2 separate regions of the Homo sapiens genome follow, and region 2 is linked to region 1. The links are contacts of gene promoters, found by promoter capture Hi-C in human tissues and cell types (Jung and others, 2019). All regions are on one chromosome and are shown on one strand. The core of a region is centred on a gene start or on the middle of the fragment in contact, and the rest is flanking DNA. Distances in the headings are between cores, read along the strand shown. Region 1 holds the start of EPO (erythropoietin). Region 2 overlaps ZAN (zonadhesin).

Region 1 (6,807 bases), core at 1,762-4,261:
TTTAGATAACCCTGCCTGTGCCTTTTCTCCTTAGTTCTGGCTATTTGAAATCCTCTATCTTTTCTTTTCTTTTCTTTCTTTTTTTTTTTTTTTTTTGAGACAGGGTCTCATTCTGTTGCCCAGGGTGGAGTGCAGTAGCAAAACCACAGCTCACTGCAGCCTCAACTTCCTGGGCTGAAGTGATCCTCCCACCTCAGCCTCCCAAGTAGCTGGGACTATAGGCACATGCCATCATGCCCAGCTAATTTTTGTATTTTTTTGTAAAGATGGGGTTTCACCATGTTGCCCAGGCTGGTCAAGCCAACTCCTGGGCTCAAGTGATCCTCTTGCCTTGGCCTCCCGAAGTGCTGGGATTACAGGCATGAGCCACCTCACCCAGCCAAAATCCTCTGTCTTGTACCCATTTTTGTGTTCATCATTGGCAACCCCACTAGAACATCAGCTCCACCAGGGCAGGCATTCCTGGCTGTATCATTCACTGCTCTATCCCCAGGTCCTTGGCCAGGGGTAGGTAGGAAATCCATAAATATCTTTTGAATGAATGAGTGAATGTTTCCCACTCTTTCCAAACAAAATCCAAATTCTTCAGAGAGGCATTCAAGGCCATAGACAGCCTGACTCCTCCCTAAGCAGCACCCTGGCCTCATCTTCCACCTCTCTCTTCTCCATCTTCCCTTCTGCTCACCTGTAGGGAGACCCCCTGAAACTACTGCTACGGAATAAAAGATGAAATGCTCCTGATTATTGTAAATACAAAATTGCATGCAGGATTGTGTACAAACAATGCCAGGTTGGACTGCCAGAATGAGCCAACAGCCTGTGATGTGCTTCCGCCTGCGGAGAGCCTATGAACGGACCTGCAGTCAGGGAGGTTTCACATCACCAAGATTTCTATCCCAGAAAAGCAGATGTTCATAGCTCTGGGAATGGAATGCGACCCTTGTGGAGAGCCTATAAACGGACGCATGGGGGCGGGGGGCACCTGTCCATATGGATAAGATAGGGCTATAAACGCCCTCATCTTGCCATGGCTCTTCTAGGCCTCTTTAGGGTTAAGGCATACTCCCTTCTGAGAATTTCTGGTCTAACTGGTTGTCTAGCTTCATGTCCTGTTTCCATGGATTGTCTGTAACCAGCTTTTGTTGCAATTGTTACTGCTGATTAGTATCTTGCTAATCATAGGTTATGGAAAGATTGTGTTTCTGTTTTAAGGCTCTGTTAGAAATTACTGATGCACACACTATATTGTAAATTCTTATCTCTGTATACTGTACTTCTGCATACAAATGTACTGTACTTCTACATATAAATGTTATGTTAAAGAATTAATTCATCCCCATGTGACCATCTCACCTCATAATCAAATGACCCTAAATCCCTCACTAACCTACCCCCGCCCTCACTAAACTTAATAATAAATGATGGTACATCTGGTGCATTGTTGACACCACGGGACCAGAAGGCGGTGACCCCCCGGACCAGCTTTCACTATCTTGTGTGTGTCTATTATTTCTCAACCTGCTGATCCGCCTGGGAACAAAGAGAGAGCCCTGTTGCATTGCGGGCTGCTGGCCAGATCCCGCAATACTCACCTGACTCTCCATTCACTTTGCTGAATCGACAATCCCCCACCCACCTCATACCTCTTCCCATTGATGTCCTACCCCCCTTCAAGGCTGAGGTCATTGTCACCTCCTCCCTCAAATCTTTCTTGATTTCTCCCGGCTAACTCTTACAGCTCAGATCTACACATTCCAGTCTTTTTTTGTTTTTGAGACAGGCTCTCACTCTGTCGCCCAGGCTGCAGTGCAGTGGCACGATCATGGCTCACTACGGCCTCGAACTCCTGGGCTCAGGTGATCCTCCTGCCTTAGCCTCCTGCATATTTGGGACTACAGGCGTGAGCCACCACACCTGACTAATTATTTTTTATTTATTTATTTATTTTAGAGACAAGGTCTTGCCATGTTGTCCGGGCTGGTCTCGAACTCCTGGGCTCAAAGGATCTTCCTGCCTTGGTCTCCCAAAGTGCTGGGATTATAGGTGTCAGCTGCGGCGCCTGGACCTTTCCTGTCTTTTATGAAACCTGAATGGGATAGGCTGGTAGTTTCACCACACCCATTTGACAGATGAGGACATTGAGGGCTCAAGGACGAGGCCACTTTCTAAGGTGTGAGAGACCAGCTAGTCTTGGTCTCCTGCTCTGGGAATCTCACTCCTCTGGCTCAGGGTTTCCAGAAGCCATAAAACCTTAGCTGTAAATCCCAGCCCCCATCACTCTTGGTGTTAGCTGTATTTCAGTGTTCTTAAGAACTCAGCAATGCAGCCTAGCTAACCTACACCACAGGTCAAATAAACAGATGTCAAGGTGCATGTGTGTCCTGCACAATGGACTGTGTGCTCTGTGCACTAAAAGTTAAGTGTCTGGGGTGGGGGCTGGGTGCGGTGGCTCACGCCTGCAATCCCAGCACTTTGAGAGGCCGAGGAGGGTGGATCACCTGAGGTCAGGAGTTCAAGACCGGTATGGGCAATATGGCAACACCCCATCTCTACTAAAAATACAAAACATAGCCGGGTGTAAAGGTGTGCCTGTAGTCCCAGCTGCTCCAGAGGCTGAAGCAGGAGAATTGCTTGAACCCAGGAGGCAGAGGTTGTAGTGAACGGGAGATGGCACCACTGCACTGCCTGGGCAACATAGGGAGGCTACATCTCCAGAAAAAAAAAAAAAAGTTAAGTGTCTGGGTTTGCAGAGTACTAGACGGTGAGGAGTGAGGTGGGGAGGAAGAACCCCAAATTTCTTGCCCTATTTGCCCCCATCAAATTCCTCAACATGGTCAACATTGTTTCTAGAACATGTCCTGGGATTGTGGGAAGGGAGACCACTCATTTGCCCCTCCCTAAAGCTTCTGGGCTTCCAGACCCAGCTACTTTGCGGAACTCAGCAACCCAGGCATCTCTGAGTCTCCGCCCAAGACCGGGATGCCCCCCAGGGGAGGTGTCCGGGAGCCCAGCCTTTCCCAGATAGCACGCTCCGCCAGTCCCAAGGGTGCGCAACCGGCTGCACTCCCCTCCCGCGACCCAGGGCCCGGGAGCAGCCCCCATGACCCACACGCACGTCTGCAGCAGCCCCGCTCACGCCCCGGCGAGCCTCAACCCAGGCGTCCTGCCCCTGCTCTGACCCCGGGTGGCCCCTACCCCTGGCGACCCCTCACGCACACAGCCTCTCCCCCACCCCCACCCGCGCACGCACACATGCAGATAACAGCCCCGACCCCCGGCCAGAGCCGCAGAGTCCCTGGGCCACCCCGGCCGCTCGCTGCGCTGCGCCGCACCGCGCTGTCCTCCCGGAGCCGGACCGGGGCCACCGCGCCCGCTCTGCTCCGACACCGCGCCCCCTGGACAGCCGCCCTCTCCTCCAGGCCCGTGGGGCTGGCCCTGCACCGCCGAGCTTCCCGGGATGAGGGCCCCCGGTGTGGTCACCCGGCGCGCCCCAGGTCGCTGAGGGACCCCGGCCAGGCGCGGAGATGGGGGTGCACGGTGAGTACTCGCGGGCTGGGCGCTCCCGCCCGCCCGGGTCCCTGTTTGAGCGGGGATTTAGCGCCCCGGCTATTGGCCAGGAGGTGGCTGGGTTCAAGGACCGGCGACTTGTCAAGGACCCCGGAAGGGGGAGGGGGGTGGGGCAGCCTCCACGTGCCAGCGGGGACTTGGGGGAGTCCTTGGGGATGGCAAAAACCTGACCTGTGAAGGGGACACAGTTTGGGGGTTGAGGGGAAGAAGGTTTGGGGGTTCTGCTGTGCCAGTGGAGAGGAAGCTGATAAGCTGATAACCTGGGCGCTGGAGCCACCACTTATCTGCCAGAGGGGAAGCCTCTGTCACACCAGGATTGAAGTTTGGCCGGAGAAGTGGATGCTGGTAGCTGGGGGTGGGGTGTGCACACGGCAGCAGGATTGAATGAAGGCCAGGGAGGCAGCACCTGAGTGCTTGCATGGTTGGGGACAGGAAGGACGAGCTGGGGCAGAGACGTGGGGATGAAGGAAGCTGTCCTTCCACAGCCACCCTTCTCCCTCCCCGCCTGACTCTCAGCCTGGCTATCTGTTCTAGAATGTCCTGCCTGGCTGTGGCTTCTCCTGTCCCTGCTGTCGCTCCCTCTGGGCCTCCCAGTCCTGGGCGCCCCACCACGCCTCATCTGTGACAGCCGAGTCCTGGAGAGGTACCTCTTGGAGGCCAAGGAGGCCGAGAATATCACGGTGAGACCCCTTCCCCAGCACATTCCACAGAACTCACGCTCAGGGCTTCAGGGAACTCCTCCCAGATCCAGGAACCTGGCACTTGGTTTGGGGTGGAGTTGGGAAGCTAGACACTGCCCCCCTACATAAGAATAAGTCTGGTGGCCCCAAACCATACCTGGAAACTAGGCAAGGAGCAAAGCCAGCAGATCCTACGGCCTGTGGGCCAGGGCCAGAGCCTTCAGGGACCCTTGACTCCCCGGGCTGTGTGCATTTCAGACGGGCTGTGCTGAACACTGCAGCTTGAATGAGAATATCACTGTCCCAGACACCAAAGTTAATTTCTATGCCTGGAAGAGGATGGAGGTGAGTTCCTTTTTTTTTTTTTTTCCTTTCTTTTGGAGAATCTCATTTGCGAGCCTGATTTTGGATGAAAGGGAGAATGATCGAGGGAAAGGTAAAATGGAGCAGCAGAGATGAGGCTGCCTGGGCGCAGAGGCTCACGTCTATAATCCCAGGCTGAGATGGCCGAGATGGGAGAATTGCTTGAGCCCTGGAGTTTCAGACCAACCTAGGCAGCATAGTGAGATCCCCCATCTCTACAAACATTTAAAAAAATTAGTCAGGTGAGGTGGTGCATGGTGGTAGTCCCAGATATTTGGAAGGCTGAGGCGGGAGGATCGCTTGAGCCCAGGAATTTGAGGCTGCAGTGAGCTGTGATCACACCACTGCACTCCAGCCTCAGTGACAGAGTGAGGCCCTGTCTCAAAAAAGAAAAGAAAAAAGAAAAATAATGAGGGCTGTATGGAATACATTCATTATTCATTCACTCACTCACTCACTCACTCATTCATTCATTCATTCATTCAACAAGTCTTATTGCATACCTTCTGTTTGCTCAGCTTGGTGCTTGGGGCTGCTGAGGGGCAGGAGGGAGAGGGTGACATGGGTCAGCTGACTCCCAGAGTCCACTCCCTGTAGGTCGGGCAGCAGGCCGTAGAAGTCTGGCAGGGCCTGGCCCTGCTGTCGGAAGCTGTCCTGCGGGGCCAGGCCCTGTTGGTCAACTCTTCCCAGCCGTGGGAGCCCCTGCAGCTGCATGTGGATAAAGCCGTCAGTGGCCTTCGCAGCCTCACCACTCTGCTTCGGGCTCTGGGAGCCCAGGTGAGTAGGAGCGGACACTTCTGCTTGCCCTTTCTGTAAGAAGGGGAGAAGGGTCTTGCTAAGGAGTACAGGAACTGTCCGTATTCCTTCCCTTTCTGTGGCACTGCAGCGACCTCCTGTTTTCTCCTTGGCAGAAGGAAGCCATCTCCCCTCCAGATGCGGCCTCAGCTGCTCCACTCCGAACAATCACTGCTGACACTTTCCGCAAACTCTTCCGAGTCTACTCCAATTTCCTCCGGGGAAAGCTGAAGCTGTACACAGGGGAGGCCTGCAGGACAGGGGACAGATGACCAGGTGTGTCCACCTGGGCATATCCACCACCTCCCTCACCAACATTGCTTGTGCCACACCCTCCCCCGCCACTCCTGAACCCCGTCGAGGGGCTCTCAGCTCAGCGCCAGCCTGTCCCATGGACACTCCAGTGCCAGCAATGACATCTCAGGGGCCAGAGGAACTGTCCAGAGAGCAACTCTGAGATCTAAGGATGTCACAGGGCCAACTTGAGGGCCCAGAGCAGGAAGCATTCAGAGAGCAGCTTTAAACTCAGGGACAGAGCCATGCTGGGAAGACGCCTGAGCTCACTCGGCACCCTGCAAAATTTGATGCCAGGACACGCTTTGGAGGCGATTTACCTGTTTTCGCACCTACCATCAGGGACAGGATGACCTGGATAACTTAGGTGGCAAGCTGTGACTTCTCCAGGTCTCACGGGCATGGGCACTCCCTTGGTGGCAAGAGCCCCCTTGACACCGGGGTGGTGGGAACCATGAAGACAGGATGGGGGCTGGCCTCTGGCTCTCATGGGGTCCAAGTTTTGTGTATTCTTCAACCTCATTGACAAGAACTGAAACCACCAATATGACTCTTGGCTTTTCTGTTTTCTGGGAACCTCCAAATCCCCTGGCTCTGTCCCACTCCTGGCAGCAGTGCAGCAGGTCCAGGTCCGGGAAACGAGGGGTGGAGGGGGCTGGGCCCTACGTGCTGTCTCACACAGCCTGTCTGACCTCTCGACCCTACCGGGCCTGAGGCCACAAGCTCTGCCTACGCTGGTCAATAAGGTGGCTCCATTCAAGGCCTCACCGCAGTAAGGCAGCTGCCAACCCTGCCCAGGGCAAGGCTGCAGTGCGCTGAGATTGTCATCAAGGAGAGGGAGGCCAGAGGACGGGTCCTTTTGGGAGTTTTGGGGGCTGGTAACAGCTGCCAACCCTGGTCACTGGCCCTTGTTAATTTCTGCCTCTTCTTTGGTCTCTTCGGCTGATGCCACACTCCCAGCATCAGCCTTCCGCCTCAATGCACATCCTCGCTAAGTCCAGCTGCCTCCTTTACTCACCTGGGGACTGTCACCATGAATACTCGCCTCTGAAATTCACAAAAGGGGCGGTACACACAGGTGCGGTTGGAGCCACCTCTATAAACAGCA
Region 2 (6,827 bases), core at 1,196-3,695, 41 kb after region 1:
GAATTGCTTGAACCTGGGAGGCGGAGGTTGCAGTGAGCCAAGATCGAGCCACTGCACTCCTGCACTCTAGCCTAAGCAGCAAGAGCAAAACTCTGTCTCAGAAAAAAAAAAAAATTAAAAAATCAGCTGGGTATGGTGGGACACACCTATAGTCCCAGCTAGTCGGGAGGATGAGGCAGGAGGATCGCTTGAGCCCAAGAGTTGGAGGCTGCAGTGAGCTATGATCACACCACTGCACTCCAGCCTGGGTAGCAAAGTGAGATCTTGTCTCGAAAAATAAATAAATACACACATAAATGAAGTTAAAAACAAAAAAGCAAAGAAGGCAGTGGTAGTGGTTAGGGAGCACAGACGCCCTGGAGGATGTTCCAGCCACTGAGTGGAGACAGACACGCTGCGGCTGCAGGCTCTTCTGGAAGAGGCAGTCGTGGTCTGCTCCTGTGTGGATCCGGCCTCCCCTACTGGACTTTGGGGCTGGTGTCTCGGTGGCGCTCATCTCTCCCTGCGGCGCCAGGCTCAGGGCACTGCTCGCGGCAGATGTTCAGAAATGAGCCACTGGGCTCTCTTCATTCCTCTCCCTACCCAGACCCATTCTTCAGGGTGACAGCCAAGAATGAGGAGCAGGGACAGGAAGGCGTGTCCTGCCTGAGCAAAGTCTACGTGACCCTGCCCGAGAGCACCGTCACCCTGCTTAAGGGCAGACGCACTCTGGTGAGCCCCATTCCACCCCCACCATCCTTGCAGGGTCTGACTGTGTGTCCTGGCCAACCCTTCCAATCCCTGAACCTTTCCACGGATGGGGTTCAACAAGACAGTGACCTGCAATCCCAGCTCCTTGGGAGGCTAAAGTGGGAGGATTGCTTGAGGCCAGGAGTTTGAAGCCAGCCTGGGCAAGATAGCAAGACCCTGTCTCTTAAAAAATAGAAAAAATTAGCCTGGTGTGGTGGCACTTGCCTGTTGTCCCCTCTACTCCAGAGGCTGAGGTGGGAGGATTGCTGGAGCCTGGGAGGTCGAGGCTGCAGTGAGCTGTGATTGCACCATTGCACTCCAGCCTAGGCAACATAGTAAGACACTGTCTCCTAAAAACAAAAACAAAAACAAAACAGTGGTGAGGAAGCTCCAGTCCACTCCTGGTGGATGAGATTGTTAGGCCGCTGTGGATGGTGTCCTGCCTCCCAGCTATGGAAATGAAAGTCTGCTGGGGTCCTCCTTGACCCCCAGCTCTGTCTGTCTCTTGCCTCTGCCCTGCCTTCCAGGTTGGGGGTCAGCAAGTTACTCTCCCAGCCATACCCTCTAAAGGCGTCTTCCTGGGTGCAAGCGGGCGGTTTGTGGAGCTGCAGACGGAGTTCGGTTTGCGGGTGAGATGGGATGGTGACCAGCAGCTGTATGTTACTGTGTCCAGGTAAGGCAGTGTCCCAGCCAGGCAGCTGCCACTTCTTCCTGCTGCCTCTTCCTGCTGCCTCTTCTTCCTGCTGCCCACCCTGCCCACTCCCCTTCCATCCCTGGCACCACTACTTGATCCTTTATGCATTCACGGATGGGAAGCACCCTGCTTAAGTGGCAGGGATCCCTTTGGACCAGGAGACAGGAGAAAATGGTTTCGGGGCATGTGATAGATAGCAGGATGGATGTACATGCTTTGGGAATGTGCTAGAAGGAGCACTAGTGAGTTCTGGAGGCTTTCTGAAGGGCAGTCACCTGGTCCCATTCTCGAAGGAAGAGTGGCTCCCCAGATGGACAAAACAAGGGAAAGCAAGATTCTTCTTCTTCTTTTTTTTGAGACAGGATCTCTCGCTCTGTTCCCTAGGCTGGAGTGCAGTGGTGCTATCTCGGCTCACTGCAACCTCTGCCTCCCAGGTTCAGCAATTCTCCTGCCTCAGCCTCCCAAGTAGCTGGGATTACAGGCGCACACCACCATGCCCAGCTAATTTTTGTTTTTAGTAGAGATGGGATTTCATCATGTTGCCCAGGCTTGTCTCGAACTCCTGACTTCAGGCGATCCTCCTGCCTCGGCCTCCCAAAGTCTTGGAATTACAGGGGAGCCACTGTGCCCGGCGAAAGAAAGACTTTATAAAAATACTTTATAGAGGCCAGGTGCAGGGGTTCCCGCCTGTAGCCCTGAACTTTGGGAGGCTGAGACGGGAGAATCCCTTGGGGCCAGGAATTCCAGACCAGCCTGGGCAACATAGTGAGACCATATCTCCACAAAAAAATTTAAATATTAGCCAGGCGTAGTGGCCTGCACCTATAATCTCAGCATGCTGGGAGGCCGAAGCAAGAGGATCACTTGAGGCCAGGAGTTCCAGACCAGCCTGGACAACATAGTGAGATCCTGTCTCTTAAAAAAAAATTAGCTTCTCGTGGTGGTACTTGCCTGTAGTCTCAGCTACTCAGGAGGCTGAGGTGGGAGAATCGCTTGAACCCAGGAGTTGGAGGCTGCAGTGAGCCGAGATTGCACCACTGTGCTCCAGCCTGAGCCACAGAGGGTGACCCTATCTCTAAAATAAATAAAAAAATAAATAAATAATTTGGCCAGGCACGGTGGCTGACACCTGTAATCCCAGCACTCTGGGAGGCCAAGGCAGGCAGATTAGGAGTTTGAGACCAGCCTGGCCAACATGGTGAAACCCCATCTCTACTAAAAATACAAAAAAATTAGCTGGGCGTGGTGGTGTGTGCCTGTAATCCCAGCTACTCGGAAGGCTGAGGCAGGAGAATCACTAGAACCCGGGAGGTGGAGGTTGCAGTGAGCCGAGGTTGCACCACTGCCCTCTAGCCTAGGTGACGGAGAGAGACTCCATCTGAAAAAAAGGATAAATAAATAAATAAATAAATAAATAAATAAATAAATAAAGTGGGAGTGTTTTAGGGCCAGCAAGGGGTTTGCTGTGGCTGGACAATGAACAGAGGGGAAGGAGGCTTGGGGGAGGGCCATGGGGTCCTCTTGTCCAGTCCGCACCTCTTCATCCTCCTCACGCCCTCTGTTTTAGGATCCCAGCTCCTTGCCTTCTCTGCCACTGCCCCTCGAGGACCGAGGCTGCTTCTCTCCATTAACGCCAGCTCCTCTCCTGTTCCCCTAGCACATACTCTGGCAAACTCTGTGGTTTGTGTGGGAACTATGACGGCAACAGTGACAATGACCACCTGAAGTTGGACGGCAGCCCAGCAGGAGACAAGGAGGAGCTGGGGAACAGCTGGCAGACGGACCAGGACGAGGACCAGGAGTGAGCAAGGAGCCCTCCCACCGGGGCCCTGGGAAGGTTCCGTCCCCTTCCTGGAACTCTCTTTTTTTTTTTTTTTTTTTTTTTTGAGATGGAGTCTCCTTCTGTCGCTTAGGCTGGAGTGCAGTGGTGCGATCTCAGCTCACTGCAACCTCCGCCTCCCAGGCTCAAGCAATTATCCTGCCTCAGTCTCCCGAGTAGCTGGGATTACAGGCACCTGCCACCACACACAGCTAATTTTAGTATTTTTGTAGAGATGGGGTTTCACCATGCTGGCCAGGCTGGTCTCAAACTCCTGGCCTCAAGTGATCCACCTGCCTTGGCCTCTCAAAGTTCTGGGATTACAGGTGTGAGCCACCACACCACCACGTCCAGCCCTCCACCCGCCCTTTTTTTTTTTTTGAGATGGGATCTCCCTCTGTCTTCCAAGCTGGAGTGCAATGGCACGATCGTGGCTTACTGCAGCCTCAAACTCCTGAGCTCAAGCAATCCTCCCTTCTCTGCCTCCCAAGTAGCTTGGACTACACCATGCCCAGCTAACTTTAACAAAATTTTTTGGTAGACATGGGGTTCTCACCAGATGGGGGGTTGACCAGGCTGCTGGCCCTCCCCAACGGTTTTTTTTTTTTTTTTTGAGATGGAGTCTTGCTGTGTCACCCAGGCTAGAGTGTAGTTGTGCAATCTCAGCTCACTGAAACCTCTGCCTCCTGGGCTCAAGTGATTCTCACGCCTCAATCCCAATGAGATTATAGGCACATGCCACCACACCTGTCTGATTTTTGTATTTTTAGTAGAGACGGGGTTTCATCATGTTGGCCAGGCTGGTTTCGAACTCCTGACCTCAGGTGATTCACCTGCCCTGGCCTCCCAAAATGCAAAATGCCGGGATTACAGGCATCACCACCACACCCAGCCTGTGCCCTCCCTTTAAAAAATGACTGGCATTGCCCCTTTCTCCTCTCTACCCTGGAGACTTCAAGTTGTTCTTTCAGTTGCTCAATATTCTTTTTTGTTTGTTTGTTTGTTTGTTTTTAGAGACAGGGCCTTGCTCTGTCGCCCAGGCTGGAGTGCAGTGGTTCAATCACAGCTCACTGCAGGCTCCAACTCCTGGGCTCAACAGATTCTCTCACCTCAGCCTCCTGAGTAGCTGGGGCTATGGACGTGCGCCATATGAAATATGAAATAAATAATTTCATATTTATTTTTAAAGAGATGGGATCTCAGTGTGTTACCCAGGCTGGCCTGGAACTCCTGGGCTCAAGCAATTCTCCCTGCCTCGGCCTCCCACAGTGCCTGGCCAGGGCTCAGTGGTCAAACATCCTCTGGGAGGGGTTTCCCAGCTGACAGGCTGGTTTGCCGGTCCCGGCCTGCCAGCCTTGCTGCCTGCTGGGTTAGGGATGAGCTGGAAGCGAGCTTTGTCTTTAGGGAGTTTGGGGTGGGTCTCTTGCAGGTGTCAGAAGTACCAGGTGGTGAATTCCCCGTCTTGTGATTCATCTCTGCAGAGCAGCATGTCGGGGCCAGGGTTCTGTGGACGGCTGGTCGACACTCATGGCCCATTTGAGTATGAAGGAGGGCAGGCAGGGTCGCACAGGGGCGATGCTTGGCACCTGGGCTCCTCCAAGGCTCTACCCCCTTCCACTGCATTCCCCCTGACTTGGTCACTCCCCTCAGGACATGCCTGCTGCACGTGAAGGCCGCTTCCTTCTTCGACAGCTGCATGCTTGATATGTGCGGATTCCAGGGGCTGCAGCACCTGCTGTGCACACACATGTCCACCATGACCACCACCTGCCAGGACGCAGGCCACGCTGTGAAGCCCTGGAGGGAACCCCACTTCTGCCGTGAGTTGTGCCAAACTCAGAGGAGAGGCCGGGCACGGTGGCTCACACCTATAATCCCAGCACTTTGGGAGTCCGAGGCAGGTGGATCATGAGATCAGGAGTTTGGGACCAGCCTGGCCAACACCCCGTCTCTACTAAACATACCAAAATTAGCCAGGCATGGTGGCATATGCCTGTAGTCCCAGCTACACTGGAGGCTGAGGCAGGAGAATCGCTTGAACCCGGGAGGCAGAGGTTGCAGTGAGCCGAGATTGCGCCACTGCACTCCAGCCTGGGCGACAGAGTGAGACTCCATCTCAAAAAATAAAATAAAATAAATAAATAAATAAATAAAAATACAGAAATTAGCTGTGTGTGGCAACGGGTACCTGTAATCCCAGCTACTTGGAGGCTGAGGCAGGAGAATTGCTTGAACCTGGGAGGCGGAGGTTGCAGTGAGCCGAGATTGCACCACTGCACTCCAGCCTGGGTGACAGAATGAGACTCCATCTCAAAAAATAATAAAAATAATAAATAAATAAATATACAAAAATTAGCTGTGTGTGGCAACGGGCGCCTGTAATCCCAGCTACTTGGGAGGCTGAGGCAGGAAAATCGCTTGAACCCGGGAGGTGGAGGTTGCAGTAAGCAGAGATTGCGCCACTGCACTACAGCCTGGGCAGTGAGAGCGAAACTCTGTCTTTAAAAAAAAAAAAGTGTTTCTGTGCAGCCCAAGTCATCACACGCAGGCACACGGTACAGGCCCTAGGCAGGGGAGGCAACGAGGCTGCCTCCCAGCTCCTGGTGTGGCCCAGCTCTTTGGGGAAGCTGCTTTAGGGCAGGCCTATCCCCTGACTCAGACCTCACAGGTGGCCCCGGTCCCCTGCGGGCCAACAGCTCACCTGGGGCATGTCTACACAGCAGCGCTGCCAGTGGTGGGTCCATCTGCTCCCACCATAGGTCTATCTAAGTCTCTCAGGGCCGGCGCCTTAGTGCTGGCCCTGCAGCCCCAGGGAGCCAGCCAGGCTCCTTGGGGAAGCTTCTCACAGTCACTCTCTCTTCTCGAGATTGGCCAGAAGCCTGGAGCTGGGGCCCTTCCGAACGTGTCCTTCCTGTTTCCCACCCAGCCCCGTGGCTTGTTCGTCTCCTTCTCACCCAAGCTTCTCCCTCCACCAGCAATGGCCTGCCCGCCCAACAGCAAGTACTCCCTGTGTGCGAAGCCATGCCCTGACACCTGCCATTCAGGATTCTCCGGCATGTTCTGCTCAGACCGGTGCGTGGAGGCCTGTGAATGCAATCCGGGCTTCGTCCTCAGTGGCCTCGAGTGCATACCTCGCTCCCAGTGTGGGTGCCTCCACCCTGCAGGCAGCTACTTCAAGGTGAGCGGCTGCGTGGACCTCTCAGCCCTGCAGCTAGAAAGGGCCTGCTCCCTGCTCTCACACCCCCTGCAAGCTCTTTCTTTTCTTTTCGTTTCTTGTTTTGTTTTGTTTTTGAGACGGAGTTTTGCTCTGTCGCCAGGCTGGAGTGCAGTGGCACGATCTCGGCTCACTGCAACTTCCGCCTCCTGGGTTCAAGTGATTCTCCTGCCTCAGCCTCCCGAGTAGCTGGGACTACAGGCATGCACCACCATGCCCAGCTAATTCTTGTATTTTTAGTAGAGACGGGGTAGGGGGCGGTTTCACCATGTTGGCCAGGATGGTCTTGATCTCTTGACCTTGTGATCTGCCCACCTGGGCCTCCCAAAGTGCTGGGATTACAGGCATGAGCCACCATGCCTGGCCCTTGT

What was found. The method cuts DNA at HindIII sites, captures the fragments that hold promoters and counts their contacts. A contact is called where the count stands out against the background at its distance.
Region 2: a contact is called between a fragment that was not itself captured here and the fragment with the promoter of EPO in region 1, in 5 of the 25 tissues and cell types used here (H1 embryonic stem cells, small bowel, spleen and 2 more).

The regions. Positions count from the first base shown.
Region 1 is chr7:100,717,457-100,724,263 of GRCh38, forward strand. It overlaps EPO (erythropoietin), which reads left to right and starts at 3,012. Exons shown (of 5, transcript NM_000799.4): 1 at 3,012-3,537; 2 at 4,102-4,247; 3 at 4,506-4,592; 4 at 5,208-5,387; 5 at 5,522-6,244. The coding sequence starts at 3,525. The coding sequence ends at 5,677. The HindIII fragment of the contact is 31,866 bases long and covers 313-6,807 here.
Region 2 is chr7:100,759,135-100,765,961 of GRCh38, forward strand. It overlaps ZAN (zonadhesin), which reads left to right. Exons shown (of 48, transcript NM_003386.3): 18 at 587-711; 19 at 1,257-1,402; 20 at 3,081-3,224; 21 at 4,672-4,782; 22 at 4,893-5,062; 23 at 6,218-6,420. Among named protein-coding and RNA genes, the nearest start is that of ZAN, 29 kb to the left of the region's middle. The HindIII fragment of the contact is 7,390 bases long and covers 1-6,140 here.